Linked DNA regions of Homo sapiens: all the other regions are linked to region 1. Evidence: promoter capture Hi-C in 16 types of primary human blood cells and fetal thymus (Javierre and others, 2016). All regions are on one chromosome and are shown on one strand. Each heading gives the region's core, a stretch centred on a gene start or on the middle of the fragment in contact. The rest is flanking DNA. Distances are from core to core; before and after follow the strand shown.

Region 1 (7,707 bases), core at 2,819-5,318:
GCCGCCGCTGCCGCCGGAGCCGCCGCCGAAGCCGCCGGGTCGGGCCCGGAGCCGCTGCGTCTAGCGCCGCCGCCGCCGCTGAAGTCGCTGCTGCCGCTGCTGCCGCCGCCGGAGCCGCTGCTGCTGCTGCTGCCGCCGCCGCCTCACACACATAGGGAAAGAGTCAACTCGCCGGCGGCGGGGGAGAAATGATAAAAGAGAGAGAGGAGGGCAGATCACCACCTAGAAGCACATCCTTCGTGCGCAGAGGGGGGAGAAAAAGACGGAGAGAAAGAATGAAAGAGGGGAAAAAAGGCAGTACGGCACCCGGAGAAAGGAGGCAACTCGGGGAGAGGAGGAGGAGAAGAAGAAAACACACACGCGCGCACGCACACACACACCGCGGAGAGAAAAGAACAGAGAATCAAAGTGATCAAATATGCTAAAAAGGGGGGCGCGGGAGGGAATGCGATTTATAGGCGCCGGGGCTGGCAGAAGTGGCTTCTCCGCGATCAGCTCACTGAGCTCTCTATATAGTGAACTTTGACACGACTGCTGCAACTTAGCGCACGTTGCCATGGCGACGGCGCGCCTTATAAGGCAGCAGCCGGGGTTGGCCTGGCCAGGCGCGCGCGCGCCGCCCCCTCGCCGTCATTGGCCGGACTGCGGCGGCCCCGCCATGGCGGCCGCGGGCGCAGCCCGGTCCTAGCGCGAGCGGCGTCGCCGGCGCGGCGCGGGGCACGCGGGGGACCGGGGGTTGGGGGGGCGGGGACGGGGTGGCCGCGCCGCCGCCGCCGCCGCCGCCGAGAGGGGGATGGGCCCGTGCTGGCCCTGCGAGCGCTGCCTCTGCTCTCCCCACATCCCGCACCCGAGGTTTCCGCCCCGGCGGGGAGACTAGCGCAGCGCGCACACACAACGTCTCTTAAAGGCTCCGCGAGAGGCTTTGGATGGAATCGGGGAGTTTGCCTCTCGCAACTTGGCGATGTCACGAATTCCGCCGCTCGCGCACCACCCGGGACTCCTGGCGCATCTTAGTACCCACAATGCCAAAGAAAAGTTCCCTGGTTTCTTTGCAGAGGGATAGGGAGTGAGGGTGGGAAGGTGCCACGAACTGAGCTTGTAGGCATTTTCCAAACGAAAGAGTTGGCCAGATCCGGGTGATGGCAAACCCTTCTCTTAATTAACTCTGATCACTTGTTCGGTTTGGTGACATATATATATGACATATATTCTTTTCAGAGGATAAAGGCCGTTCTGTTTCTGTTTATTCCTTGTAGGGTTAACATTTCACAGGTATGTGGCCTGACATTTTAATTGCCCAAATAAAGCATCTCGGATGCTGAGAAGCAGAAATAGACTTCATCTGATTGTCATGATGCAATTAGAATCAATTTTCCTCAACTTTACCCTCTCTCGCTGGTTTTAGCTAACTCTCCAGCCAACATCCTGCCACACACCCAGTCATGGTGAGAGGGGAAAGACCTCTGCCCACTGATGGACAGGAGGAGGCAGCCGCCCAGCCTCCCCTGTGCACACCCTCTGTACACACATGTAAGCGCACATGTATCAGATGCACATTTGTCAATGTACACAGACAAAGACTTCACCGACTATGCTTCTAGGTCATAGAACAGTTGAGTACGGACTTCATTGTTCCTCAAGTTCCTTTTAAGCATTCATATAGTCATTAAAACGCACCCAGAGATTCTGCCCCAAATGGGAAATAATACTAGTACAGGTCACAAGAACCAAACCCAAGCCATATTCTACCTCAAGAAGTCACTGCAAAAAGAACAACTTCATAGCCTATTGCCATTCTGCTCCATGTGCTAAAATAATTGAGACAGTTGTGTCTTTGAATTCCAGGGTGTCTGGTTTTAAACATCAAACATGTAGAATTGCTCTCAGAACACACTATATTCCAACGCAGTAAACTTGTTGTTTATGACCAGTTAGTGAATTATCATTATTCCACATTTATACAAGAAAATTGTGTCTCCTTTGTACACACTTTGCACCAAGAAAAAACCTCATGCCGGTAAACCAACCAGGTTTGTGAACAATTAAAATATTTTACACAAAAGACGCTGAGCTCCAGGAAAGAAATGAACACATATGAAGAGTAAATTGATGACCACAGAAAACATCCTTGGTAGCTGAAAAAAAAATTGACAGGGTAAAGATATTTTAAAAATAAACCATACATATAATTGACATGCATAGATCACATTTTACATTCAATTCTCTTTACACACATAGGCAGAATATGAGGTAAGGACTAAAGATCTGGGCAGATAGGGGCTGGTTTTTAGGAAAGGAAAAATCTTCTTTAAGCTTCATTCCCGAAACCTCAGCCCTCACTCTTTCTCCGATGAAATCACGTATTTCACTAAAGCTGCAGGTTCTCGGTTTATTTGAAAGTTGTTAAAAAAAAAAAAAAAAGCCCAGCAAACCTATAGTGGACACTGAACTATCATAAACCTGGTGTGTAATAAGATTGCCACAGAATGAAGCCAAGCTGAGAATTTCAGGTTAATTAGAGACACAATATAACTTTCTCCTAAAGAGGATAAGAAGGATGGAAAAGAAATCATTACACAGGAGAAGGTTTTTGGTAGTTGTTGTTGTTTTCCCTTCCAACCTCTATGATTCAGGAATTGCTAATGTTACAAATGTCAGCAGATTCGGGACAAGCTCAGCTGAGATGTGATGAGACTGGGGTTGAGATAGGAAATCTAATGGGCATTCCCATCTCAATAGAGGATGAAAATAATTGATTATAGGGAAATCTTCATCTCACCTCCTGAATGAGACTTCCATAGCAGATTACCTTTTACAAACATGGGAAGGAACAATATCGAGGAGGAAGAGCTTCCCCAGTCCACTTAGAGATTTTTGGAATTTGAAGTATGCGTGATGGCCTTAGATTAAAATGGAATAATTTCCCAACCATATCTTAACAAATTGGAGCCTGCTAGGCAAATGATCACAGGGCTGCCATAAAGTCAGGGGTGTTTCACTCTGTATTTTAGGACTCATTCAGTTATGAAATGCTGTTACAAGGGAGAAAAAAAATCACCGTATGAATTATACTTAATTTTAATGCATAGAAGAAGAGACAAGACTACAGACTGAGAAGAAAAAAGGGCAAAAATATTTTTAAATGTCTTCTCCAGAGATGCTCACTTGCTGTGCGTCTAAGGTTAAAAAGCTCTGAGAAGATAAAATCAATATATTATTGTTGTTTTTTAAAAATCCAACTCAGTCTTTTTTTGCAGATGTAAATTTATTATAATGAGAAGAATGGCAAGCTTTAATTTGCCTAGAGAAAGTTGGGACAACATTTGCCCTAATCTAAAAAAGAAAAGAAAGAAACTCAACACCCAGGAATATAATTTTCTTGCAGAAAGTGGCCTGATGGGCTGTATTTCTTTACAGATTGAATCACAATATGAATACAGACCCCAGCAAATGCCGAGTTTAACTCTGAACTCAGTAGAAACCAGTTCCGTCCTCCAGGATTCATTGAATTCCTCCTTTCCCTCAATCTAGTCCGTGTGTGTTTTTCTCTTCCACCACACTGGAGCTCCATGAATAGGGAAAGGGGCTTCCATTGTGTCCCTCTGAACTTCCAAGTCAATGCAATTTTTAACCACTGGCTTGTGGTACTTTGAAAATCACCAGGGGCTGTCAGAGTTAGGTCCTCTGAAAAATTTACAGTGCTAAATCAGAGCATATGCTGGGAGGGAAAAAATTGCTTAAGATTAGAGCAAGTACAGTATCTGTCTGCCCCCTAGTGTAAGAGTCCTCGCTGCCTAAAATTCAACTTTAAAAGAAAAGGAGCTCTTAAAGGGAAACGACTTTGGACTCACGTAGGCATAGGAGAACGAAACTTCTGTACATTTTAATCTGAATAATTCTTCAGGATTTAAAATTAATTGGCTCTGGCTTGGTTGGACCGTACTCGGATCTCGCCACCTCTGCGTTTCCCGAGTCACTGGCGAAGAGGTGATTTTTTTTTTTTTTTGAACTGGGTTTATGTGCGTCCCCCTCACCCCCTCCTCTCTTTTTCTTTCTCTCTGTCTCTGTCGTCTCTCTCGCTGGCTTTTTAAAAATGAGGAACCGCTCCTTGAATGTTCTGGACAGAGCACAGAATTGCTTCTTAAGTCAGCCCGGCGCGGTTGCAATAGACAGCAAAAAGGTAAACGTTTGCCTGAAATCCGCACGCCAGCTCCACCGCCCCGCCCGATGGTGAGTACCCTTCTCGTCGCGATTCTCCTCCTAGCTTAACCGAGCGCTCGCCTACCCGAACCGTGGCCGAGGGCGCCGGGCTAGGCTTTTCTCCCTCCCTGCCTGCCTGGCTGTCAGTTGCACAAGGTTGCAAAATGAAGCGCAGAGGCAAAGCGAACAGTAAATTCTGATACTTAGTGCGAGCCTAGCAGCTCCTTTGCTAGAAAACCGAGTCATCTGCTGCTTGCAAAACCACGCTTTATAGGACTGGTTTTTAGTTTGCTCTGTGGAAGGAAATGAGTTTGAGGAGACAGGACGAGGAGATAGGAGGCTCCGCAGTCTTAACGCTTCGGTTTAATCATATTTTGGCAGCTTTGCAATTGTATTTTCCCCCCTCCCCCTCCACCATCTCTCCTACCACACACATGTAATAAAATATGGCAATGCATTGAATTGACTCTGATCCCCCCTTCCCCGAACCCCTTAAACCACAGTCCTCGGCATTTCATACACGTTAGCAAACCGATATTTTGAAAAGCCCCAAGTCATCCCCAACCCCACACAGCACAAGCAGAAAAGTGAGAAAGGAAAGAGAGAGAGAAAAAATACTGTAAGTAAACATACCAAAACCATATTTGCCTTGTTCAAGGTCCCAAACCGCTTGCATCTTCCTCCTAAACTGGAATAACTCTCCTTTAGTTTGGCGGGTGAAATAAATGCTTTGTTGGCCCCCTGAAAAGATGTGTCTTTGATAATTAAAGAGAATCTCCTCCTCGGTGTTTATCTAAGCGATTGTGCAAACTGATAAAAAGTAGGCACTAGCCTGCAGGGAAAAAGAGGAAAGGTGAAGGGAGAGATCTTCCACCTCAAGGAAGTGCTTCCCCATGTATTAGGCTCTCTCAGCCTTGGAAAACCCTGCACACTAACTTTAGAGAGACAAGGTTTCAGGGAGCTTTGTACATAGCTGCTGAGGAATGCAAGCCTCGCCTTTAAGAAAAAAAACCCCAAACCGTAGGTAGGAGATGTCTGGAGTGATCCTTGTCTCTCATCTCATTCCTTAGAAGGAAGAGTGCGTTGTTACACCTTGTTTGGGGCTGGAAAGACGAGACTTTAAAAACACCCGTCCAATTGAAAAAAATCTCCCAACTTAATGAGTTTAGTCGGAGGCTGGAGCAAACGGCTCAGCCTCAGCAGAAAACCGCCAACAACTATAGGCGATATTGCAAAGCAAGACGACCCAAGGCACAGCCAAATTCCACTGTTTGGGGTCGAGAGAGATGGAGGCTAATCCTAAAGCAAGTTGGGAAAAAACAGAGGTGGAAGAGGAGGGGGAAAAAGCATCAGCCTCGCAGACTGGCAGACAGGCTTCCCTCGTCCTGGATCAAAGATAGAACTTGAGACAAGAGGGCAACATTTTTCCTAGGAATCCTTTGGAATCCTCATTTTCTACTTTTAACTCAAGTCTCCCCAAGTGATTTTTCCCCCTCTCCCCTGTGGATTTCTGCCTCCCCCCTTTCCGGTCCTTATTCTAGAACTTTCCTGAGGAGGAAATCTATTTCTTTTGGGGGGAGGGGTTCCCCATTCCATGCCTTCAGATAATGAATGCTTCATTCACCCCCTCCCTTTCTCTACTCCCCAAAACGAATAAAGGAAGCAAGAATACGGTAACTAGTGAAAATTGAATATAAACTATGCTGCCTCTCACAGTTTAATACTGTCTTAACTAATGGATTTTTGTTTTGTTTTGTTTTAAGAGAAGAATAATGGGGAAACACGGATCTTTTATTTTAGGAAACTGTTATGGTAAGATGTATGTCAGACTTGACAAATGGAACTAACGCTCTTCGGCTGCTTCTTGTCCTTGTCTTAAACAGGAATTAAGTTAAACACAGTGCTGAATGTTAATTACATGTTTACTGGCTAATGAAAATTACAAATGGTTTTGCCACCTCAAACAATGATGAAAACTCTGAAGACACTGTAATTATATACTTTGAGCAAAATAACTCAGAATATTGATCATAAGAAGTGTAAATCTTTTTTAACTATTCATTAATACCATAAATATGGGCTACAGAAGTTTTTCCTTGCGGTTTGTCTCATCAGTTATACTGAGTGGATGGATGGTGAGGCTCCTCTGGGGAGGAGGTGAACTCATTCTCTTAGTAGAAGGAGGCCACTTGTGTAACTCGGGGGTGCCCCCTCCCTTTCGCCCCCGCCCCCTTCATCCCCAGCCGAAGGTCGAGGAATAGTTGAACAGGAAGGCTGGACTCAGGGCAGGTGAAGATGATCACAGCCTGGCCTTTTCTCTCCCCTCCCTGCCCATCTCATTCCTCTCCCTTCTCCCTTTCCTGCCAGTTCTGATAGATGACTGCCTTCCCCAGCTCGGGCACCAGTGGGATAACCTGGCATTCGGGGGTTCCTAATGGAGGACCAGTTAGACCAAGAAACTCACCCCCACCCACAACCCAGCCGTGGAGCCCTGACAACTTCAATTCCCTCCTTCAGAGATGGCTCAGGCAGTTCATTGCAAAAGAAGAAGAAAAAAAAGTTAGGGATGGAGGTTGCTATTGGGTAAGGTGGCTCAGGCGGCTGAACCAGAACTGGTTTCCCTGGGTTTGGGAGCAGAAAAAATTTTTTGTTGTGGTTTTCTTTTAACTTTGGCCAAAGTTGTAGTGCTGGCAGCCACTCGGATCTAGGAGGTCAAAGGTGAGGGCTGCACTAACCCTAAACGGCTGTCCTGGCCTGGCTACAAGGCCAAACAGGCAGGGGAAAGGGGGTTTGTCAGCCTTGCAGCTTGGCACTTTGGAGGGGGCATCTGTGGAACCCATACTTGGGGGGCACAGCATCAAGTGTGGGTTTTAAGTGAAATATTGAGGATTTTTTTTTAAAAAAGTGCCCTAGGCTTGTGGGACTAGAGTCCTCTTTTTCCCTGAGAATTCCCAAGGCGCTGGTCTTTGTCTTAGAAGGAATGGAGTTTCTGAATGGTGTGAAAGGGACAGAGAGGGTCGCTTCAAATCGATTTTACTTGTCCTTTCTGTCTTTTCGGATCAACGCCCTTCAATGGGCACAGAGGTGCTCTTTCAACCAAAAACTTGTGCTACATTTTCTGCCTGTATTGGTGCTAAATACAATAAGCACTGGGCAGGGTTTTTTTTTTTTTTTTCTTTGCTCTCCAAAGCAAGAAAGCACCCTAATTAAATTGTTTTATATGGACAGTCAAGACGGACCAATTAAGTATGCATTAGTATAAAGATATAGTCTGCAGATAAGGTTGTTTAGAAAATCATGTGTAGGACAAAGGAGAGGGCGCTAGCATTTTGGAGAGGTGCCTAGACCCAGCAAGGTCATGCCCCTTCCTTCTTGGGCCCCAGGGGAATTGCAAAGGCCCGGGCCCCAGGTGAGAGGGGAACAAGCTCGCTAACAGGTGGGCGACATTGCCGGAGACTTTCAGGCCCGAAGCCCCGGCCCAAGAGTAGTGGAGTCCGAGGGTCGGGA
Region 2 (7,707 bases), core at 3,107-5,606, 1.7 Mb after region 1:
TCTGGACACCAGCAGGTGGATTCTTACATGGAAGGACAGATTTTGCCAGGGTAGGACATGCATGATGTGGCTGGTGGGACTGAAGACCCTGTGGGCATTGATGAAGGCAAGGATGGGCTCAAACACCATCCGAAACCCACACAGATCCACACCAGGTCCCAGCCCTGGACCAGACAATGCAGCAGCCAAATTTTAAAACTTAGAGTCCTAAAACGACATGATTGTTTTTATACATCCAGGCACATCCCTGAATGGGGAGAAAAATGCCAAGTAAGGGGACAATCTTCCCTGCCATTATCACCTCCCTTCATCTGCTCCAGGCCCGAGCTGCCCGGGTTGCCATGGTGATGCAGGGCTGACCTCTCACTTTTTACTCTTCCAGGAGCTAAAAAGGTAAAAATGAGCCATTTGGTAGCAAATGAAAATCAACCTCCTTCAGTTAAAAGATGTTGAATTGCTTTCGCTTCGTCAAACTTAATGTTCCGTAGCCAAGTTAAAAAAAAAAAAAAAGTCAAAGAAGAAGGAGAGGGGGAAGAGGAGGGGCAAAACGGAAGAACGCAAGCAAGAGAGCTCAGAAGCAAGCGGAGATGTTGGCTGGAGCAGCAGTGGCGACTGCAGCAGAGAACAGGGATGGGCATCAGTGCCGGAGGCATCAGACCAGCCTTCAGCAACAGCTTTCTCAGAGCTCACAATTGGGTGCTGAGCCACTTCCTTCGACTTGCCCGGCCTTGTTGGTGCTGGCTCCAGCTCTTTCTCCCTGCTTGTCTCTTTTACTCGCTTTGCAATGGTACCTGGTGAAGCTGGATTGCTGGCTTTTACTTTTCATGTGCAGAGAAATTGGGTCAGGAAATCAAAATATTGATTGAACCCGATTGCGGTAGCTGTTCTAGAAGAGATTTTAGGGGAAGCAAATTACATTCTTTTAACATTATTCAGCCCGTGATTAGGCATGTGCCCCATGCATGAGCCAGGAGAGCGCATTCGTTTGCTGTGATTAATATCCCAAAGTGGCTTTCTCCAGTAACCCAGGCTGCCAGGAACTTGACCACTCAGAGCCTAGCCAGCAGGACCACCCAGGCCAGGGATGCCCCCTGTCCGATTACAAGCACAGGTTGGGCAGGTGCGAGAGCAGTGCAGGGTGGCTGTGGGCGGCCAGCCTGGTTGTGCTTGGGAGCAGGAAGCATCTTGCCGCCTGTTTCTGGCTTTCTGATGTGTGGCAGGGAAGCTGGATATTTGCCCTTTTTCCTCTTTTCTCTTTTTGCTCTTGGTTGATAGAGGACGGTCTCAAAGTCTATCCACCTGCACATCATGTGCAAAGACAGCCGGGGTTATACTTTGGCTTCAAATGATTCATTGGGATTCAAGTGTCTAAGCACGTGGGCTAGAGCTGTCAAACCATCTTCTACATGTGAATTACCCTTAATTATAACTTAGGTGAGAACTACCGATTTATCACTCCCAGACTTGTTTTTAATCCTTTAACTTCTGGAGTTAAACCATTGGATAATGGCAATACTACAAAAAATTAGAAAGAGTAAGAGTAGTTATGGGGAAGGCAACTAATTCTTTTTTTTTTTTTTTTTTTGAGATGGAGTCTCTCGCTGTCGTCCAGGCTGGAGTGCAGTGGTGCGATCTCGGCTCACTGCAAGTTCCGCCTCCTGGGTTCAAGTGACGTTCCTGCCTCAGACTCCCGAGTAGCTGGGACTACAGGCACCCGCCACCACACCTGGCTAATTTTTTTTGATCCGCCCGCCTTGGCCTCCCAAAGTGCTAGAATTACAGATGTAAGCCACTGCGCCCGGCCAAAGGCAACTAATTCTTATCAGAAAGATGTCTTCACAATGTCTTGGAGCAAAACCCTAGGTTTTTTAAGAAGTACTTTAGAAACCTCATGGGCAGGTCAGGGGTCAAACACACAGAAAATTCACTAGCGATCAGTTTCAATAAGTCCAACATGAGAATAAACAAAACCAGGCTATTAAGTGATAATATGGAGAGAAAAATAATGGTGCCCAGATTGATTCATTCATTCAAAATATCTATATTCTTTAGTCGTATTTCTTCAAATACTGATAGTATTTGGCAAATACCTGCTAGTTTGTTTAATAATCCTAGGTCTTATTTATATCATCAGCTTCCGGTGGTCATAAGATTTGCAGAAAGAGCCTTTCTCTGTTGGATTCATAATACGTCCTGGATTCTACCTGAAATCCTTGTCTCTGAAATGTTGGAAGAGACCCTCTTTCATGCCCCCTGCCCCGACCTGGCCACAGGCGCGTACACCTGGTCCATATTCTGTAATGAGGTCTCAGTGGTCATCTTATTCTCAGGGCCCATCGAAAAATTGCATGCTCTGAAGACAGCATAGTTGCATCAAACTCTTTAACTGGCTGGCATTTTGAAAGTTTAAAGGGTTAATGCTCCTAAGAGAAGAAGAAAACACCACGCGTGCGTTTTGATCTGAGGTTCAAAACATACACGCAGATGAAAACGGCCAGCCTCATCGCTACACACAATCCCTTTCTCTGCCTCCCAGTCCCTCTCCTTCCCTCTCCACAATCTTACAGATCTCAGTACGATTAGAGAGCTGCCGATAAGAGAATGGCCATTGGTATTCTATGGTTTCAGTGTAGTCTGAAAATTAAATCCCTATGAAAATAATATATCTCTTCTCCTCTCCCCTACCCCCTCCTCCCTAGAAGCAGCTGCTTTTCACATTTAAATGTAGCAGTGGTAACAAGAGCCTCTTTTATCAGCTACTCCTATTCATAAGGCATTAAAATACACGCCGTTTCCTAATCCCTAGTGCAGCTCTAACAGGGGCTTCAGCTTTGTGCTGAAATAGCACGTATCTTTTAAAAGTAGCTGATGGAAATCATCTTCCAAACCGAATCAGTCTCTTAAAAGCAGCTCTCCCCAAGCACAGAACATAAATAGAGTCCAGGACACAGTGTGTGTCCAGCTCCCCTCTCCACTGTAAAGGGTTTGGGAAACAATGGCTGAGTTTGTTTATAAGTAGCCCAAGCGACTTGGCAAGCTGCTTCCCTCCTCTCTCTTCCCTCCCACCCCAGATCCCATACCCATCTTTACAGCAGCACCAGTTGCAGCGCCTCTTCTGGGAAAGGCATTGCTACTTCTGTGTAAGCCAATAGGCATTTGCTGAGCAAGGTCACTTTCAGAGGCAGCTCTTTCTGGAGGCAGCATCTACAGGAACGGTGGGCCAGGGGCTGGAGGCATGGATCAAATAGAAAATCACCTGGATTCCTGGTTAATCCACAGGCCTCAAGAGGAGTGCATGCGGGGCTGGTGAATTCCATAACCATGAGAGAGCTATTTTGTAGGCAGGTAGCTGATAGAAATGTACACAGCCATATGACACATACGTATATATATATAGTTTACATATAAACACAAGTATACACATATTTGTCCGCATCAGACAGTACTGATTCCCTGCACAATCACCTAGAAATAGCATTAGAAGCACTATTAACACAGAGGGAACATTTCAAATACAAACAAGAATAAGTAGCCTGAATTATGGTTAACTCTTGTGGCTATCGTTTTATTGAAATTACGTCCTGAAATTAACTTTTTCTTATATGTTAAAATTAAGGCTGGCCCTTTAAAAATAATTTATTTTTTGAATACTCAAGCTTTCATTCCGATATATCTGTTTTTCTATTTTCAGTAAATTAGGGGGTTTCTAGTCTCTGGTTTTATTACTAATAAAGAAGAGAAAAAGGTAGCAGAAATGTTTGTTGTATTTTGTGTTCAGCTTTATGTTTATTTTCTTTCAACTGCTTATAGAAGAGATCTCAGGAGGAAAAAAATACATCACATTCTTCTAACATTGTTTTACTCAAAGTTTTATTTTAGAAGTGTAATTATTTTTTTCTCATGGTAAGTAAGTGTTGCTAGAAGTGTTTTGGAATTTTAAGTTCCTCTGGCAGATATCTGTTTTTCAATTGCTGTGAATCTTTTTTTTTTCTAATTCTCTCTCTCTTCTTGATTTGAAACTGAAGTGCTGATGAATGTTCTTTGCCTTGTACAATAGATATCTTTTTACTTATAAAATGCCACAAAGTTATAAATTAGGAGGACTATCTACATGATAAGATTTTCTCCCTCCCTCATGTGCCAGCTAAATGTTGAAGAAGGCTGATAGGAACAGAAATAACATGTTCAAGGGAGAAATAATCCAAATAAATATATACCTTCATTTCATCTCTTTTGAAGAAAGTGTCCATCTCACCAAGGTTGTAAGGTTTTTAATAAAAGCAGAAAACTCTTCAGGTAATTATAAACGCCCTTTAATACTATTAAAGGAAAACGTAATTCCAATCATTGAGATTTATTGGAAATCTTACTTTCTGAGGCAGTGGCAATTATCTCTGAATCATGGAACCTGACTGCCCTCTTCTGGTTATAAACAGAAATAGGAACAGCCTGGAAGAATTCTATCACTGACAATAGGGTTATGTCTAGGAAATCTACGATAATAAGGAAATGTCCACATTCATATTAGAATCTGTGCCTGACAGGAATTAGAAACTGAATAATCTAACTTCCTCATGGCCCAGAATACAATGCTTTCTAATTGTTTTTTGACAGCAGTTCTGACTTTTGTACTATTTTATTTTATGTTTGGAGCCCTCAAGTCAGACCCAGGTGTTCAACTAAAGCTAAAGTGAAGAGCAGTAATTACTTTAAAATGTCCACAACTTTTTGAAAAACTGATATTAAGGGCAGCCAAGCATTCATAAATATTGCATTTGGGTTGGAGAAGAAATTCACTTTTATCAAAAGCTCAAAAAGTAATAATTGTCAATAATTAACTAGACTATATTTTAGAGATTAAAAGGTAACATAAAACTTTTCTCATATAAAATTAAACATAATGAAAATAACTATTATGTAATGCCATAATTACATGGGATCTCACTGGTTACTCGATAGAATGATCAATTGAGTAATCTTAGATCCATCCATTTTCTCCCTTAATCTGTATTAGGTGACATGATTTTCCATGTTCATACCATAATTAAAAAGCTTTGAATTTCTTTCTTTTTTTCCATTTTACCGCTGAAAAATGGTATAATGAATTCGGGATGATTGATAATTCTAGATAGAGGATCATTAAATGCCAACAGAAAAAAAAATTATGTTCAATTATAATTGTGATACTACGTCAAACAGATAGAGGAAATCCTAATTCTGAGCTCTATTAAAATGCACTTATTTCAATTTCCAGTTGCTATGTATGTCCTATTAGCAGCCTGACATTTTGAGTAGTACACTAATTCATATGAATTGGGTTTGAAATGAAAGCTTTCAAGTCAAGCTTTATGGAACACTGAATGTGCGATAAGCCCAGAATTAGCAAGAGAATGAGGTGATACTTTTTCGCCAAGTGAGCTTCTTGTATGAAGGCACAAAACCCGAATGCTCCGAATTATAAAATGCTTTAATTTCAAGGACCTCGCCCATAAGTAAAGCACACGTCGATTTTTCTCTGGAAACCTATTAAGTAGTTAGAAGCAGATAAAATTCTAGTCTGCAATTAGAAAATTAAAGGTCAGAGGTTAAGTGTGTGCCTTGCCAGGTAGGTCTCAGATGGATCTCCACCTGTCAGGTGTCAGGGTTGGGAACACATTTCAAAAGATCACACAAAGTGGGCTAAGAATACATGTAACTGGGCAAAGCTTACATCAGGCCAAGCGTAGCAAAAAGAAAGCAAGGCCCCCCCCGGTTTTCTAGGTGTCCCCTAGAGAAGCTGTAGGACTTGCAGTGGGATTCTGTGTTCCAGTGACCATTCCATCCTCCACAGCTCTGCCCTCCATCCTGCCTCATGTAGGTCTCCTTTCTTTCTTTCTTTCTTTTTTTTTTTTTTTTTTTTAAGACTGAGTCTTGCTCTGTCACCCAGGCTGGAATGCAATGGTGCCATCTCAGCTTACTGCAACCTCCGCCTCCTGGGTTCAAGTGATTCTCCTGCCTCAGCTTCCCGCATAGCTGGGATTACAGGTGCCCACCACCATGCCCAGCTAATTGTTGTTGTTGTTGTTTTTTAGTAGAGACAGTGTTTCATCACGTTGCCCAGGCTGGTCTCGAACTCCTGACTTCAAGTGATCCGCCCGCCTTGGCCTCCCAAAGTGTTGGGATTACGGGTGTGAGCCACCTGGTGCTCAGCCCATGTAGGTCTCTTTTGACAGGGCAAGGGTAAGAAGAGCCTTGAGGAGGATGGGGTGGGCTGGTCATCCTCAGGCATCAGGCTCTTAGGGGCCTGCACTTTGCAGTTGTCAGGGAATGCTGGCTGTGCACACCTGGAGAACTCAGGTAGTAAGGTATTGCAGTCCCCTGTGTGAGGAAGAGCCCTTTCCTGCTAAGAGTAAGAGCTGCTGTTTCTGGCTAGCTTGTTGTCCAGGCAACCCAGAATGGGCCCCCAAGGTCAGGTTTGGCCAATCCTGCTCAGGCACCTGATTGCATTAATAGAAGAGCACTGCACTAAGGGTCAACTTCTTACAGAGCTCTGCCGTTTTGTGATCACAAGAGAACTACTTCTCCTTTACCTCAGTTTACTCATGTATAAAACAAGGAACTGGGACCCCATGCCTTCTAAGGTAACTTTTTGGTTCCAAACACATACGCTGTCACTTGTCACTTTCATAAAACTATAACATTAAATGAGGTACCAACCATCTTCATGAGCAAAGGATATCAATTAGTGGTGTGACAAAAATATAAAGAGTTATGAAAAGTTTTACATCAATTTTCCCCCCTCAGGTACTGAGTAGTACAAAGCAAATGCAAACCGTTACATTTTATGGCTTGCTCACTTATGTAATAAATCTGGCATGACCTGAAACTCAGTGTCTCTCTCTCTCTCTCTCTCTGAAGTTAATAAGGTCCCCGGTTTCTATTCAGAAATTCTCTTCTCTCCAGGATTAGGAGGAAAGGCAACTCATTGCGGTCCAGGCTTCAGGGAAGACTCGCAGAGACATACTGCGTCTTTAGGTGTAATGGTCGTGAGGCAGCAGGGATACTTGGTCCTGTGGTCTGGGGAAGATGCTGGGATGGAATTGATGCTGAATCTTTTGGAAGGAGTCCTGTCAGGTATAGTTTTCTCCTGTTCTGCTGGTCAAAGAGTTGTGACAATAGAAGCTGCAGGCTCAGCTGTTCTCTGTCTTGTGCCAATGAAAACTCTCAGAGCAATGACAGCTGTAGGGAAATGTGGCCAGAGCTAGGGAAGAGAGAAAGCGAGGAATCAATAAAGATAAAGGATAATCTAAAAGCAGAGTCGTGCCTGCCTTCGTGCCAAAACAAAACATATATTACCATTTAACATATGTGCCCTGACTCACCTGAATTCCTGTGACTTCTCAGGGCAGATAGTTTCGTCTGCTTTGTTCATCTCTGTGCCCTCAGCACCCAGTACAGTCCTTGGCACCAAGTTGGAGCATGGTACTTATTTTTAGTGGTGAAGCTGGTGGTAGTGGTGGAAGTGGTAGAGGACAGGAAAGAGGCAGAGGAGGTCGTGGTGGAGATGGAGGTAGAGGTGGCAGTGATGGAGACAGAGATGGAGGTGAAGGAGGCGGTGGTGGTAGGAGTGAAGGTGGTAGTGGCGGTGATGTGGTGAATGTGGTAAAGGTGGTAGAGGTGAAGGTGGAGGAGGAGGAGGTAGGGTGCTGGTGGTGGTGGTGGTGATGG
Region 3 (7,707 bases), core at 2,831-5,330, 1.1 Mb after region 1:
TACACATAATTTTATCTATTATTCCTTCTATGTACAGATAAGACTCTGAGAATTTATAGAAACAAACATTAGAAGGCAGGAATGTGGAGAGAAGAAAGCTACCTGACAAGGGAATCTCAGGATACAAGGAAAACACCAAGGTGAGTTTCCTGACTTTTAGCTTTGCCTGATATATCTCAGACCTAGAGTTCAAGGAACCAAGAACCCCAAAATAATAATGGGAAAGGACAAGAAAAGCCCCAGCGAAAGACTACTCTGTCTCTAGCCAAAGGACAAGGAAAGGGGCAACCAAGCAAGACAGAAAAACATTTAGATAATAACCACTCTATTCTAGCCAAATTCCACAAAAACTAATTAGATGGTGTCAGAGGAGGCTGAGTAGGAAGGAGGGACTTTACCCCTGCCCCCTAATCCTGTGATATCAGTGGAAGCCATGTGGAGAGCAGCAGCAAGGCACTTCCATCCCTCACATGTTGGGAAGTATAGTGGACCCTCGAACAACACAGGTTTGAACATCACAGGTCCACCTAGGTGCAGATTTTGTTAAACAAAAATGTAGCAACTTCCTAGCATGTTCAGATACTCTTCTAGGTACTTGGAAGACAATAGTAAAGAAAAACAGCCAAAGCCCCTGCTGTCCTGAAAGATGCAGGCAATGGAAGAGGTATTAGTTTAGGGACCCACACAAATAAGTAAATTTGCATATATGCTAAGGGTCATAAAGGGGTGGCATGTGAGCATGTGAGAATATAGAATAGACACATCTGCTTGGCTAAGGGCAGTCAGAAAACACTTTCTTCAGAAATGAATGATTTATTTAAAATCTTCATAATTAATTAGGCAGAGTAGGCCAAAAGTTATCTAAGTACAGAGAATGTACCTGTGCAGTTTATTTTATTGACTTGAAAATTAATTTCCTTCATAGGAATGTAAATCTCTGTTTACCACAAGCCCTCTGTCTCCACAAGTTCTGTGTCCAGAACTGAAGGCAGATCCAAATACAATATTCATGGGATGCAAATTCCCATGTATGCCAAGAGATAACTGCTTTATTGGAGGCCTAGTGGGGAACTGAAACTCCCACTCCTGCTTAGCAGGAATGAGAAGCCCCCTTTCAGAGGTCAACAGAAGCTGAGTTAAGAAACCTGAACTTTTACCCTACCTGGCAGTAATGAAGCGACACCCACCTTCGTCTGTGAGGATGGTGTGAGATGAAGGTAGCTAAAACAAAAGGTTTAAATAAGATTCAGAGTCTCATCATATTGAAATGTCCATATTTCAGTGGAAAATTACTCATCATACAAAAACAAGAAAGAACTAAAACTAAGTGAGAAAAGATAATAAATATATGCCAACATCAAGATGACACAAATGTTAGAATTATCTGGCAAAGCTTGTAAAGCAGCCATCATAAAAATACTCCAATGAACAATTAAAACATTCTTGTAGCTAATGAAAATTTATTTGGAAAGCTTCAACAAAGAAATAGGAAGTCATAACCAAAAATAGAAGATAAAAGAGTCAAATGGAAAATTTTGAACTGAAGAATACAATAACCAATATAAAAAACTCAATGCATGGGCAGAATGGAGGAGACAGAGGAAATATTGGTGAACTGGAGGAAACAATATAAATTGACCATCTATACAACAGAGAGAAGATAGAGTGAAAAAAAGATGAAAGGAACCTCAAAGACCTTCGAGATTATAGCAAAAAAAACCAAAATAAAACAAAACCAAAAACCAACAAACAGACAGACAAAAAATTAACCTTTGCATTCCCTGAGTCCTAGAAGACCGGAAGATGGCAGACCTGAAAAACATTCTAAGAAATAATGGCTGAAATGTGTTTAAATTTAGCCAAAGACATAAATATACAGATTTAAGAAACTGAGTGAATCCCAAATAGGATAAACTCACAGAAATTCATAGCAAGACACTCATAGTCAAACTTTTGAGAACTGAAGACAAAAAAGAAAAACAAAAAGTCAATCCAGATGTCCTTCAAGGGGAAGATGATTAAACCAACCGTGATACATGCATGCTAATAGAAAAAAAACTACTGATGCCTGGAACCACCTGGATGAATCTCTAAAGAATTATGGAGAGTGACAAAAATAATTTTAAAATGTTACATAGTATATTGTTTTATTTATATAACAACATGATTGAAATAACAAGATCATAGAAATGGAGACTCATTAGGGGTTAAGGAGGGGGAAGGATAAGAAGGAAGAGGGAGTGGCCATAAAAGGCAGCACGAAGTATCCCTGTGCCGATAGAAATATTTCTTATCTTGACAGTAGCAATGTCAATATCCTGTTTGTTACACTACAGTTTTGCAAGATGTTAGCATTGGAAGGAACTGGGTAAAAGATCACTCTGCGTTCTCTCTTACAACTGCAAATAAATCCACAATTATCCTAAAATAGAAAGTTTAATTTACAAAAACATTTCTGCAAGCCTTGTAACTCAGTGGCTACATAACTCTGGACTTAGACCCAAAGAATTTTGACTGTCACTTTAATCTCATGTAACCCTGGACAAGTATTCAGCCAGTCTGAGCCTACTTTCTTGTCAGTTAAATGGGCATAATGATAGCTACCCTACTTATTAATATTTCACCAACTGTAGTCAGGATGAAATAAAAATGAAATAATGATCAGGAAGGGCTGCTTTTTTATTGTTCTTAGGAACTTTTGTTAAAATGTCTACTAGAGATCAAGGCTCCCAACACAACTAAAGAGACATTGACACAGGAACTGGCGGTGGGCATGAAATACCTAAGACTAAATGAATGTTATGTAATCCCAGCACTTTGGGAGGCCAAGGCCGGTGGATCAGGTGTTCCAGACCAGCCTGGCCAACATGGTGAAACCCTGTCTCTACTGAAAACACAAAAGTTAGTTGGGCGTGGTGGCGTATACCTATAATCCCAGCTACTCAGGAGGCTGAGGCAGGAGAACCCCTTGAACCTGGGAGGTGGAGATTGCAGTGACCTGAGATCTCACCATTGCACTCCAGCCTGGGCGATAAAAGCGAAACTCTGTCTTAAAATAAAAGAGTGTTAACTCTTTTAACTCTAAGACTAAATGAGTGTTAAAATGAGTGCTAACATATATAGAAATTTTTACAGTCTGTCAACATAGATCAGTACAATTATTAGAAAAGGGAAATTATCTAGGTGCAGTGGTGTGTGCCTATAGTCCCAGCTGCTCGGGAGGCTGAGGCAGGAGGATTGTTTGAGCACAGGAGATTGAACTGCTGTGAGCTATGATCGTGCCACTGCATTCTAGCCTGGGCAACAGAGCAAGACCCTGTCTCTAGGAGAAAAAGAAAAAAAAGACTGAGGTTAGCCTAAGAAAAACCTTCATAATTTGCAGCGGTATTATTATTATTGTTGTTCTTAACAATAATAATAACAGAAAAAGTTTTTCTATTTTTGTAGATGTAAGAATTACAAGTACAGTTTTGTTATGTGGATGTAGTGGTGGGTATTGGTGAAGTCTGGTATTTTAGTATAAACATCACCCAAATTGTTTACTTTATACAAGAAAGGGCTTCTTATCTCTTCAAGTACCACAGCAGAAAGAACTCACTTTTGCTGGATGCTAACTGTGTGCCAGGCTCCAAGCTAAGCTGAATGCATTTTTTAATTTATAATCTATGTGTTAGTATTTTATGTGAAATCTTTAAAAGCAGGGTTCCATAGCTGAATGGCAGAGTATGTGATATTTAACAAAGCACCACTAAAGAGGAAATCCCATCTTTTATATCTTCCTCAGGCATTCAAGAGTTTCCAAGTTCAGAGGCTACAGTAAACTCTTAATCCCTGACCTCTTCAACACTCTGAAACTTCAGATATCCTCTCCTTCTCCTTTCCTTAAACATGCTAAATCTAACCTACCATCTTGGTTCTTCAGTGTCCTTTCCCTTGCTTGCTGTGCACAGCTTAAAAAGATGAGCTACACCAACAACCAGCCTCCCTGCTGTGCAGTTTTTCCTTTGCACTACCTGCTTTCTAGAGGACAATGAGTCCATAGGGCTTGGTCCTTTTTCTCTTTACAGCACCTCCCTAATACTGTGCCACTAGACTGGGAAAAGACAGAAGAGTTTGCAGCTAGATGTTGCTGTCTTCTTCTTAATACATTCCACCTCATGTATTATCACAATTTACAATTGAGGAAATGTTAGTCATCTACTGAGAACATACAGCTATGTTAGTTTAGGAGGCTTAGGAAATGTTTAATTAACAAAGAGATGACTGTTCCACATTGTGCACGAATTTGTTTTCTGTTTTCTGGTTTTTGCTATGAGACTCTAGTACAAAGAATCCATTTATTTGTTTATTCATTCATTTGTTGATTCTTTCATTTATTCATTTCATCATGCATTCATCAATGACCTAACACCTACTAATTGCAGGGCTCTGTGGTAGACTCCAAGGATATGAAGGTGAACAACATATAATCTAGAGAGATACACATGAAAACAATAAAATGAGAATATGGTTCCTGGTGTATCAAGGCGTGAAGGTGTTGTCATAACACAGAGAAAGAAGCACTTCACTATGGAGCCGTCACGGCACCTAGAGAGCGTGGGAAACTCAGATGGCTGCAAGGGCCAGGCATACAACAAACTCCCATGTTGGGGAGTACAAGGAACAGCCCTGATGAAATCTGATTGAATAAATGAATAGAAGTGGACCTAGTGTTCTAGGGTCTAGGAACATTATATGTAAGAATGATATCCTGTGGGCCCCATCTTTAACATTTAGCTCAACTGACCATTTGTTACCATATCCAATAAAACCCTCCTACCTCTCCTCATGCCACATGCAGTAGCCTCCTATTTAGTCTCCCTGTTTCCACTCTTGCCATATTTCGTCTTCTTTACTTGTCAATCAGAGGGAGATATAATGCATAAGTTCATGCAACGTCTTCACCCAATGGCCGTGACTGAGAGTTGAAGCCAAAGCCTTTATCTTTGAAAGCATGTTTTTCCTAAATAAACATTAGAATACCCTACACAGGATTTTTAAAAATATCAATGGATGGCCCCCACTCTGGATGAATTCTGCACCCCCAAATTGTGGATGATATAAGGTGGCTCTCAGGCTGCTGCCATTCCATCATCTCACTCCCTCATTATTTTACTCAACCCAATGTTGCCTTTGCACAGAGACCTTTGCTGGCCACCTTGTCCAAGCATCACTGTTCTTTCACATCTTTGCTGTTCTCATAGTACTCTTGGCAATCCACATGCTCTGTTATTGGCTAAATGTGCTTCATAGTCCATCTTTCTCTACTAGAAGATGTCTGCTAGAAGAGTTCAGGGATTTTACTTGTTTTTGTTTACTGTCCTACCCCAGTGCCTGTGAAAGTGCCTGGCACTCACGCCTGTAATCCCAGCACTTTGGGAGGCCGAGGCGGGTGGATCACCTGAGGTCAGGAGTTCGAGACCAGCCTGGCCAACATGGTGAAACCCTGTCTCTATACAAAAATTATCCGGGCATGGTGGCAGGTGCATGTGATCCCAGCTACTCGGGAGGCTGAGGCAGGAGAATTGCTTGAACCCAGGAGGCGGAGGTTGCAGTGAGCCGAGATCATGCCTCTGCACTCCAGCCTTGGCAAAAGAGTGACGCTCCATCTCAAAAAAAAAAAAAAAAAAGAAAGAAAGAAAGAAAGAAAGAAAGAAAGAAAGAAAGAAAGAAAGAAAGAAATTGCCCGGCACATAGGAGGCATTAAATAAATAAAGTATAAAACAAACTGAATTGACAATGACGAATTTAAGAAGGGTTTAACATGTTCAAGGGAAGTGGAGGGAAGTTGATTGAGAGTAGAAACAAGCAATAGGAAATGATCCAGGAAAGAGAAGAAGGCTTGGTAGAAAATAAGGAGCTAGGATATTTTTTCCCTAAGAAGATGAGGAGCCTTATTCATTTTAAACAGGAGACTTTCACAGCTAGCTTTGTTTTTTAGAAAACTCAGTCTTGCTGAATTTTGGGAGATGAGTTAGTCCAAAATTGAGTTAAGGAGACAAAAATGAAAATACCTGTTAGGAGACTCTCCTAATCCTTAATGAGAAGAAGTTGAACAAAACTATGGCATATTTCAACATATTTCAACATCAATGTATGGAAAGAAATGGAAACTGACCCACATATGGGTTTGTTTTGTCTTACTTGGTATTGGGCACAACCCTGAAGAGTGAATGGTCACTTGCAATTAAGTTTATAAGCAAGTAAGTTCACGGCTTCTCTCCGGCAAAAACTCAGGTTTGTCTTTGGGGCTCTCTCTCTATTCTGGTTAACAAATACAAATTAAGGTAGGCTTAAAAAAGACAAACTTAAAACATTTCCAGAAACCAAACAGAGGTCACTGAAGCCCCTCTAGGCCCCTTCTGTTCCCACATTCTATTCCCCAAGTGCGGCCTACATGATCCTGGTTCCTCTCCATTTATAACTTTGCCTCATAGGCCGTTCTGCACATTTCTCATCCCGATGTGAAAAAGTGCTACAGGGCGTCTGTTCAAAATCTTTTCTAATTTCTATTTATGCTTCATTGTCCTATAATCTGTTCAAAGCTGAAAATAGAACTAAGGTATGATCTCAGCATAACCTTTAGCAATTAATTTTGTTACTATTTTTTTCTAACTGAACAAACTCCTAATAAATAAGAAAAGCTTTATCTGTAAAATAACCCCAAAATAGACCTCCACCTCTTACCCTTCATCCTTCTCTAAACTTGCTAAGCCAGTATTAAGTAGAGTCTCCCCCACCCCGCCCTTCCTTCCTTCAACCCAATATTACTTTGGTTAAAGAAGTAAATCTAATTAAAGGAGCATGGGAAATGGAAGTCGTTTTGTGAGTTAGAGAAGCTGGCTCTGTGTATCTTTCACCGGTGATTGGGCTTACAAGATGGAAAATTCCATACACTGCTAAGCAAAGTGCTCTCAATGTTGTTGCAACATCTGCTTTTCTTTGTGTAAAATCTTTTCCACGGGGTGGGTGAAGATTTTTATTCTAATTGAATTTGTAGTTAATTCCAGATAAAGATAAGCCGGGGTTTTTTTCGGTTTTTGTTTTTTGCTGATGCTGCTTAAATCAGGGGTTCCAGGCCCATCCCTCAAGGCCCACTTTTACCCAAAATGAATCAAAAGGAGTAGCAGGTGCTTTGGATTAAGTGACCCTCCATTTCTTTACATTTTTAGAAAGAATAAAATACTTAGATTCACTTAATTCCTGATTTGGTCTTTTAAATTATTTGTGATAGGAGAACAAACTCTTGTTTCTTAAATGCAGTGTTTCTAACCCATTAAGCAAGGATGCGGATGGGCCTTGGTTTGAAGATAGCTTACTACCCTCTTTGAGAATATTAATGTAGTGTTAATTGATCATCATAAGAAATATGTTTATGGTCCTAAACCATTCTTAAGAAACTAAGGAGTCTGTCTTCCAATATTTGTTGCAATATTTGTTAAACAAATTAATAAATGGGTGAACAAAAGAAAGAATAAAATATAATGCCTGTGAGCCTTCCAGTGGCTTTGCCATGCCACCTACTTGATAGCCTTCTGCCTGTCACAGTGGCCTTTGGCAATGAATAATTTCCATCAGTTTATATTTTGGATGTTATGAAATAAGAGAAGACTATTCAATTACAATTACTTTTGTTTTTCCAACCAACCTTGATAAATGAATGGACCC
Region 4 (7,707 bases), core at 3,766-6,265, 1.0 Mb after region 1:
TAGCAAAAAAGACAGAAGATTAAAGGATCTGAAATTCATTCAACGATAAAAGTGCTTAAAACATTCTATCTTGGAGAGATTTACATTTTAATTGGTAGCAAGCTTGAAAAGAAAAGAATGAAGATCTTGGATACTTCTAATCATCAAGGAAAGGGTACAAATCAAACTGCTCTGATGGCCTGATTTGCACTTCTTCTACAGGTATTGAATTTGCACACTGTAGTGTTTGGTTACATAACAATGCGGAAAAGCTGAGTATGCTTCTCACTACTTTAAGTACTTCATATAAGTGGAATCATAACGTATTTGTCTTTTTGTGACTAGGCTATTTTATTTAGCGCAATGTCCTCAAGATTAGTTTGTGTTGTAGCATATGTTAGAATTTCCTTTCTTCTTCAGGCTAAATAATATTTCATTGTATGTTGCCATGGACTGAACATTTATGTCCACCGAACATTCCTGTCTTGACGCTCTCCTCCCAATGTGATGGTTTGGAGGTAGGTTCATTGGGAAGTAACTAGATAAGGAGGGTGGAGCCCTCATGAGTGGGATGGTGCCCTATAAGAGGCCAAAAACATAACTAGCTCTCTTTCAACCAAGAGAGAACACAGCAAGAAGTTGGCTGCCTACAACCCAGTAAAGGGCCCTCACCAGAACCTGATATGCTGGCAGCTTGATCTCTGACTTCCAGCCTCCAGAACTGTGAATAAATTTCTGTTGTGATATTCTGTTATAGCAAATAAAACTAACTAAGACATATCTATGTAACACATTTTGCTTATTCATTTATCCATCAATAGACACCTGGGTTGCTTCCACATTTTAGCTATTGTAAATTATGCTGCTGTGAACACTGATTTGAACCCATTTTTTCAGGACCTTTTTCTCAATTCTTTGAAGTATATACCCAGATGTAGAATTGATGGATGATATGGTAATTCTATTTTTAATATTTTGAGGAACCACCAAACTGTTTTTCACAATGGCTGTATCATTTTACATTGCCACCAAGAATCTATAAGAATTCCAGCTTCTCCACATATTCACCAATACTTGTTATTTTCTGTGTTTTTCTTTTTGATATTAGCCATCCTGTGGGTGTGGGATCGTATCTCATCATGTGCTTATTTGCCATTTGTATATCTTCTTTCAAAGGACCTTTTGTTACAAGGTTGCCACAGGCTTGTCCCCACAAAAGGAGCTGCTATTCAGGGATTTCTTTGTCTGTTTGTTTGTTTGTTTGTTTGCTTGCTTGCTTGTTTTTTCATGAGATGGTTTCTTGCCCTGTCATCCAGGCTGGAGTGCAGTGGTGCAAGCAGCCCCAAACTCCTGGATTCAGGGGATCCTCCCATCTCAACCTCCTGAGTAGCTGGGATTGCAAGCACACATGATCAGGCCTAGCTAATTTTCTTTTACTTTTATTTTTTTGTAGAGACAAGATCTCCCTTCATTTCCCACGCTGGTCTCAAACTCAAAAAGTCAGTGACAACAAGAGGTCTATGGGCAAATACTCTTCTTAATCTCTATGTCATCTGGCCATTGGTGCCTAATGTGGTCCAAATGTAGGCTCTATCACTACTTGAATAAACTTGGACAACTTAGATATGATACTTACCTTATAGGATGAACCTTGACTTGCTTTTCTGTAAGATTAGAAAAATACCTCCAGAAGCTGTTAGTAGGATCAAGCATTAAATGTACATGAAATTATTTTGAAATGTCTTTAAAACAAAGAAATGCTACTACTTTGACAACTTATCAGACAAGGCCAAATTTCATTCTGTGAGCTGGTAAGACCTGAAAAGTAATCATTCAACCCCTTGAATTGAATGAGTGAGAAAAAGATAGCAATTTAAGTTCAGTTCCTTAAATATGTTTACACATTATAGAAAGCTCTGCTTCAGTAAAGCTGTCAGACTTGGCTGTGCTAGGATGGTCCTACTGAAAGGGTACGATTCCTAAGATAAGGTTTCGAGCAATCAAATCTGCTCCCATTCCCCCATCCAAAATTTCCAAAAGCACAGATGAACTACTGGCCAGTGAATGCATGGACAATCAGCCTTTTATAGATGAGAAACGAGGTCCTCATGGGGGTGACAGGCAGTCAGAGCTTTGGCCAGAACCCCTAAACATGGCCCACGTCGTTCTCTGTACTTCCTCCTTATGATAGACAGGTGCTTTTTGTACCCAGAAATATTGTTTCTGCCATTTGCATTGTATTTTTTAAGGCTGGGATATAAGTAATAGAATTAAATCCGTTGGTAGGCAAAGTGTGCTATGAATTGTGGCAGTTTTCTGAAGAATTTAAGCCAAGAGGATATTTTTGGTTTGACTAAGTAATATAATTCAGGCCAAAATGGCTTCCAAATTTGAATTTCCAAAAACAGTGATAGTTCACCACTTCACTTGGCTGACACAGAGAAGGCGATCCCAACTTCTAAGATGAAATGAAACTTCTAGGAAAAATCAAAATCAGCCACTACATTTTATCTCTGGAGGGCATGGGAGGAAGAGGCAAGATAGGGATCATTACAACGTTGTAATCTGTTAGTCATCCAAAAAAAAAAAAAAAGAAAGAAAGAAGGGAAACGTTTTCTCTATGTTCTATAAATTCTATTCCAGCTGCATAAACTGCACTAGAACTGAACACAGCCTCCACTAAAACAAAATTTTAAAACAACAACAACAAAAAACTCATAAATGAGCTGGGGACCACTTTAATGGCAAAGTGGTCATAAACCAGTGTGTTGGAATTTCATCAATATGACATCATTCCCAATGTGACATGGGAGAGCCCACCCTCCATTTCCCTTCCAACTATCCCTCTCACACGCCCCCTTTCCTCTTAAAGAGATGATGAAGCTGCCTGCGCAGCACAGAAGGATAATAAAAACCTGTATCCCTTAAGCTGAATTCAGCCCAATGAACTGCACAAACAGCAATAACCAAAACAAAGCTAGCAGGAAACGTTTGCACACAGCATCTGTTATGATCGCATAACCACGAGACAGCTGTTTAATCCCAACTGTTAACATAAGATCATTTGTGTGTTTGAAGAGCGATCCCATTTGGATTTTCCCCTTTATTTATTTATTTTCTAGCTTTTCCAAGAGTGAGACTTTCTCAGCTGTAGGATGCAATTTGTGTTTCTGGTTTTTTCCACTTTCACCCTCAGCTTCCGAATGAGAGGGGTGGTGTGGTTTCTTAACTATAAATACTCAGAGGGGAAAGAGGACGGCTGTGTGGTCTCCTAGCTGAGCAGGGCACAGCCCTTTCTCAGCCTCCGGGGCCGGCTTTCTGCTCCCCAGAACATTCATAAACCATTCTGGTCAGATTATGGGAAAAGGCCCTCACATGAAACGCATCTGGTGGTCTCGGCCAAATTCTAGTGAAGCTGAGTTTTCTCAGCACCACCCAGGATTGGAAGCAATCCTTGTAAAGTTCAGTTCCAAAACGCGAAAACAAAGTCATTAGGCTCACAATTGCTGTGAAAAGGTCAATGAAGGATGTCAGCAGTTTGGGTGGCCTGTGTGAGTGCCCACATTGGAAGCCTGAGCAGGACACCTAGATAACTTATGATGGTGAGGGCTATGATCAGACTTTCTTTTTTTCCATTTACATCGCAACTCGCTGCCTGCAGGCTCCCCAAATGTTCAGTAGAGAATATGCATGCTTTACTGTTGAATTGCAGCCAACGTGTCACACAAGTGGCTGATGACAGTGACAAGCAGTACAGAGCTGCCCATGTGGTCCTTGGGCGAGAGGAATTGGCCATGAAAATTTGGACAAGCATTAACCTTGAAAGCTGCCTGAAATTAGCATTACATAAATCTTTCTTCACATCCTCCATCTTTTAATATTTCATCCCAGCAAATCCTCCATTTTGATCCCAACAGGATGATAACATGTATAATATTAAGTTTATCTTTCCAGGAAAAATGAAGCTCAAGGCCTTCTAAAGCTTGAAAGTGAATGTCTTAAACCTGATTCTTAGGGCAAGTTCATTTCTGGGTCATATGAACCTTGGGAATAAAAGGGACTTTTCACTTCTCACTCATTTTCCGTTATAACTTTTTAAAAATATAAATTGTTTAAGAGAAACTTACATCTCTTTGAAATGAGAAATATCACGATAATAGTTTCTGAATGACCTCTGAATTTCTCTTAAATATAAGAACTTCTTTTATTCTCTCTGGTGGTCCCACCTCCTCAAAATTATTGCTCTTTGCTCCATCTCTTTCCCCATAAAGAAAAATTATACACAATTTTTGTATGATTCTATTTTGTATTTTCTATGGAGACTGTCATGGATATTAATTTCCTGAGATTTACTAAGAAATACAAAATCTATCAGTGGGGGCAATCGTCAAAAAATTCAATGTTTAGGTCAGTCTATGGCGTAATTTCTTATCATACTGAGATAAAATTTTTTTTTACTTTTAGCCTGGCATTCTTATCACATGCAAAACAGTTTGCATCCCATAGCAAGGAGAGTGAATGACCGTGGTCCCCTTAGATTATGGACATCCACCTTAATGTTCAACTTCCCCTACACGGGACAAAATCACCAACATCTTTAATGAGAGAAAATCCTTTATCGACTGATTCATTTCCATGTTTTGTTTCTGCAGCTAGACGGGATATCCTGTAAGGTGGTGAAAAGGGAGGGAAATTTAGTACTATCCGTTTGTGATTTGCCATCATCATTACTATTATTATTATTTCTACTCTCAAGTTAGTATTATGTTTATCTACTGATTTTCATATATAAAGTCTGTCTTTGGTAAATTCTTTTTCCTTCTCTCCCTTCCCTTTCTATATTACTTCAGAATTACTTTTGGCAGGATTTGGAGAAGAGTTTATCTTTGCTACATAAAAAAGTCATATCTTTTAATATTTGCCACTTTTGTTAAAACTAAATAATCAATTAGTTATTATGTACTCTGAGTTACTGAGTGAAAACCGTAGTTAAATTTACTGGCTTTATTTAAGCATAGGGCCAGTTGGGAAAATAGTTTTGAATGATTTTAAAAGAAGAGGAACTACCTATCCAAGCTGGAGAGAGAGAAATCCCAGAGTGTGAGTAAGCACAGAGAAGTTACAAGTGTCTCTTAGATGCTCACTAGTCGGCAAAAACCAGGAAATACATCTCCTACTGTTTTGTGATCACCCCTGGTTACTGTCGTAACAGGAAGCGTAAATGAGAGGCAGATGATGTGAGAACAGGACTTTCAACTGGGCACCAAGCCTTTCACATACCACACCCACCATGATACTTACCTTGGCAAAAAGATCCCAATTAGTCTACCACACTCATGCTTGAAACCAGCCACATTTACTTCTTATTATTATTTTATATGTATGTATGTATATATTTATTTATTTATTTTTGAGACAGAGTCTTGCTCTTGTCACCCGGGCTGAAGTGGTATGGCACGATCTCCGCTCACTGCAACCTCTGCCTCCCGGGTTCAAGCGATTCTCCTGCCTCAGCCTCCTAAGTAGCTGGAATTACAGGTGCTCGCTGCCACACCCAGCTAATTTTTGCGGTTTTAGTAGAGACAGGGTTTCACCATGTTGGCCAGGCTGGTCTTGAGCTCCCAACCTCTTGATCCACCCGCCTCGGCCTCCCAGTGTGCTGGGATTACAGGCGTGAGTCACCGTGCGTGGCCTATTATTTTTTAATATCTTACACTTTTTATTGAGATAAAATATACAGATACAGTATACCGTCTCTACCATTTTTCAGTGTACAGTTCAGTATTTATGTTCGGTTTTTTTTCCCATCATCCTTCCATCCCCCTTACCCTTCCAAGCCTCTGGTAACCACCATTCTACTCTGTCTTCATGAGATGCACTTTTTTCATTCCCACATATGAATGAGATCATGTGATATTTGCCTCTCTGTGCTTGGCTTGTTTCACTTAACATCATGGCCTCCAGTTCCATCCAGGTTGCTGCAAATTACAAGATTTCATTTTTTGTCTAGATTATGCAGATCTCTTGCCTTTTTGTCAAATACAAAATGCTACATGTCAAGGTAGCATACATCTTTGAAACAAAGCTTGAGGATTTGCCTATTATATACACTTTAGTGTTTCACAGACCCTAAGACCGGTCTTGGCAAACAACCACTCATCAACAAATTATGATCTTAAAAACAAGCACATTGGAAGTGAGGATAGGTAGAAAGAAAATTGTTCAACATCACCAGGGGGAGAAAAGCACTGAGAAAATTAACCAACTCTGAATGAACCAAAGACTTTGTTTTGCAAGGTAGATGGTCCCTGTGCTTCGATCTACTTATTTTTTGCATAATATGACTCGTAGAATGGCAGTCTGCTCTCAAATTAGTCATTTTGAAAGTAAGAAACAAATACATGAGCAAACAATCAGCCAAAAAATACCCTAAGTAAACAGACAATGGAAATGTGGGCTTAGGAATGTGGACAGTGTACCAGTAGGAAACCCTTAGTCCTGCTAGTCTGCAGTGCTAGGAAATGCCTCACTCTGCATTCCTTGGCAGTACGATCCATCCTTTCCTGGCAAAAGTCTTTCTCTCCCTTCCTCACCAGATTATAGTTCCTACATCCAATCCACCTCCTGCCTGTCCCCGGGATCCCTGATTTTTCCTTATGGGTCCTATGTCCTATAGCCTGTGTGGCTGTGACATTCAGGGTTCCAGCTTTGCTTTTTTCTAATCTGTATTTGCCTTCAAGATTGGACTAGAAGCCAAAGGGAGTTTTTGTTTACCTATTATCTACTCCTCTGATGATTTCATAGTAAGTCAATTTTCCGTGTGACTCCTTTTTTTTTTTCTTTTTTTTTGAGACAGAGTCTCCCTCTGTCACCCAGGCTGGAGTGCAATGGTGTGATCTCAGCTCACTGCAAGCTCTGCCTCCCGGGTTCACACCATTCTCCTGCCTCAGCCTCCCCAGCAGCTGAGACTACAGGTGCCAGCCACCATGCCCAACTAATTTTTTTTTGTATTTTTAGTAGAGACGGGGGTTTCACCGTGTTAGCCAGGATGGTCTCGATCTCCTGACCTCGTGATCCGCCCTCCTCGGCCTCCCAAAGCGCTGGGGTTACAGGCGTGCTGTGTGACTCTTAATCCTAAGTGCTACCTAAGAACTTATTCAACATCTTTTAATATAAGACATAGGATGTAAAATTAGGAGCACCCCCAAAATTTGCCTTTCACACGTCATTGGGAAGGCTTGTATCTGACTTAAGTCTTGGAAAAAGAACATATTTGCAATCTCTTCTAAATTATTGGAAAAAAATTAGAAAATATTTACAACCTCTCTTGTCTACCTCGTCTTCAAGCCATCTCCTCACCCCACACTCACTAACATGCGTGCACTATGGGGGCAAATATAGTGCATAACCAAGACTGGCTCACCTCTATTTGCCACCTGTAAATTCAATTTGGAATAACAGCATAATATGAACAGTATATTTAATTTCACTTATTAGAAAAATTCTGGCCAGGCGCAGTGGCTCACACCTGTAATCCCAGCACTTTGGGAGGCCGAGGCAGTGGATCACTTGAGGTCAGGAGTTTGAGACCAGCCTGGCCAACATGGCAAAACCCCATCTCTACTAAAAATACAAAAATTAGCTAGGCATGGTGGCATGCACCTGTAATCTCAGCTATTCTGGAGGTTGAAGCAGGAGAATCATTTGAACCCAGGAGGCGGAGGTTGC

The links. Contacts are between HindIII fragments. The CHiCAGO score rates a contact against its expected background, and 5 or more counts as called.
Region 2: a fragment that was not itself captured here is called in contact with the fragment with the promoter of NR2F2-AS1 in region 1 in 1 of 17 cell types (endothelial precursors); the score reaches 6.9 in endothelial precursors.
Region 3: a fragment that was not itself captured here is called in contact with the fragment with the promoter of NR2F2-AS1 in region 1 in 1 of 17 cell types (endothelial precursors); the score reaches 6.0 in endothelial precursors.
Region 4: a contact is called between a fragment that was not itself captured here and the fragment with the promoter of NR2F2-AS1 in region 1, in 1 of 17 cell types (endothelial precursors). The highest score is 9.3, in endothelial precursors.

The regions. Positions count from the first base shown.
Region 1 is chr15:96,323,479-96,331,185 of GRCh38, reverse strand. NR2F2-AS1 (NR2F2 antisense RNA 1) reads left to right here and starts at 4,068. Exons shown (of 5, transcript NR_125738.1): 1 at 4,068-4,230. NR2F2 (nuclear receptor subfamily 2 group F member 2) reads right to left here and starts at 486. Exons shown (of 3, transcript NM_021005.4): 1 at 1-486. RefSeq lists a silencer at 594-733. The HindIII fragment of the contact is 16,559 bases long and covers 3,293-7,707 here.
Region 2 is chr15:94,667,344-94,675,050 of GRCh38, reverse strand. No RefSeq gene overlaps it. Among named protein-coding and RNA genes, the nearest start is that of LINC02852, 82 kb to the right of the region's middle. The HindIII fragment of the contact is 1,396 bases long and covers 3,659-5,054 here.
Region 3 is chr15:95,249,107-95,256,813 of GRCh38, reverse strand. No RefSeq gene overlaps it. Among named protein-coding and RNA genes, the nearest start is that of LETR1, 74 kb to the left of the region's middle. The HindIII fragment of the contact is 5,211 bases long and covers 1,475-6,685 here.
Region 4 is chr15:95,299,873-95,307,579 of GRCh38, reverse strand. All of the region lies in intron 1 of LETR1 (lymphatic endothelial transcriptional regulator lncRNA 1), which reads left to right. Among named protein-coding and RNA genes, the nearest start is that of LETR1, 23 kb to the left of the region's middle. The HindIII fragment of the contact is 2,103 bases long and covers 3,964-6,066 here.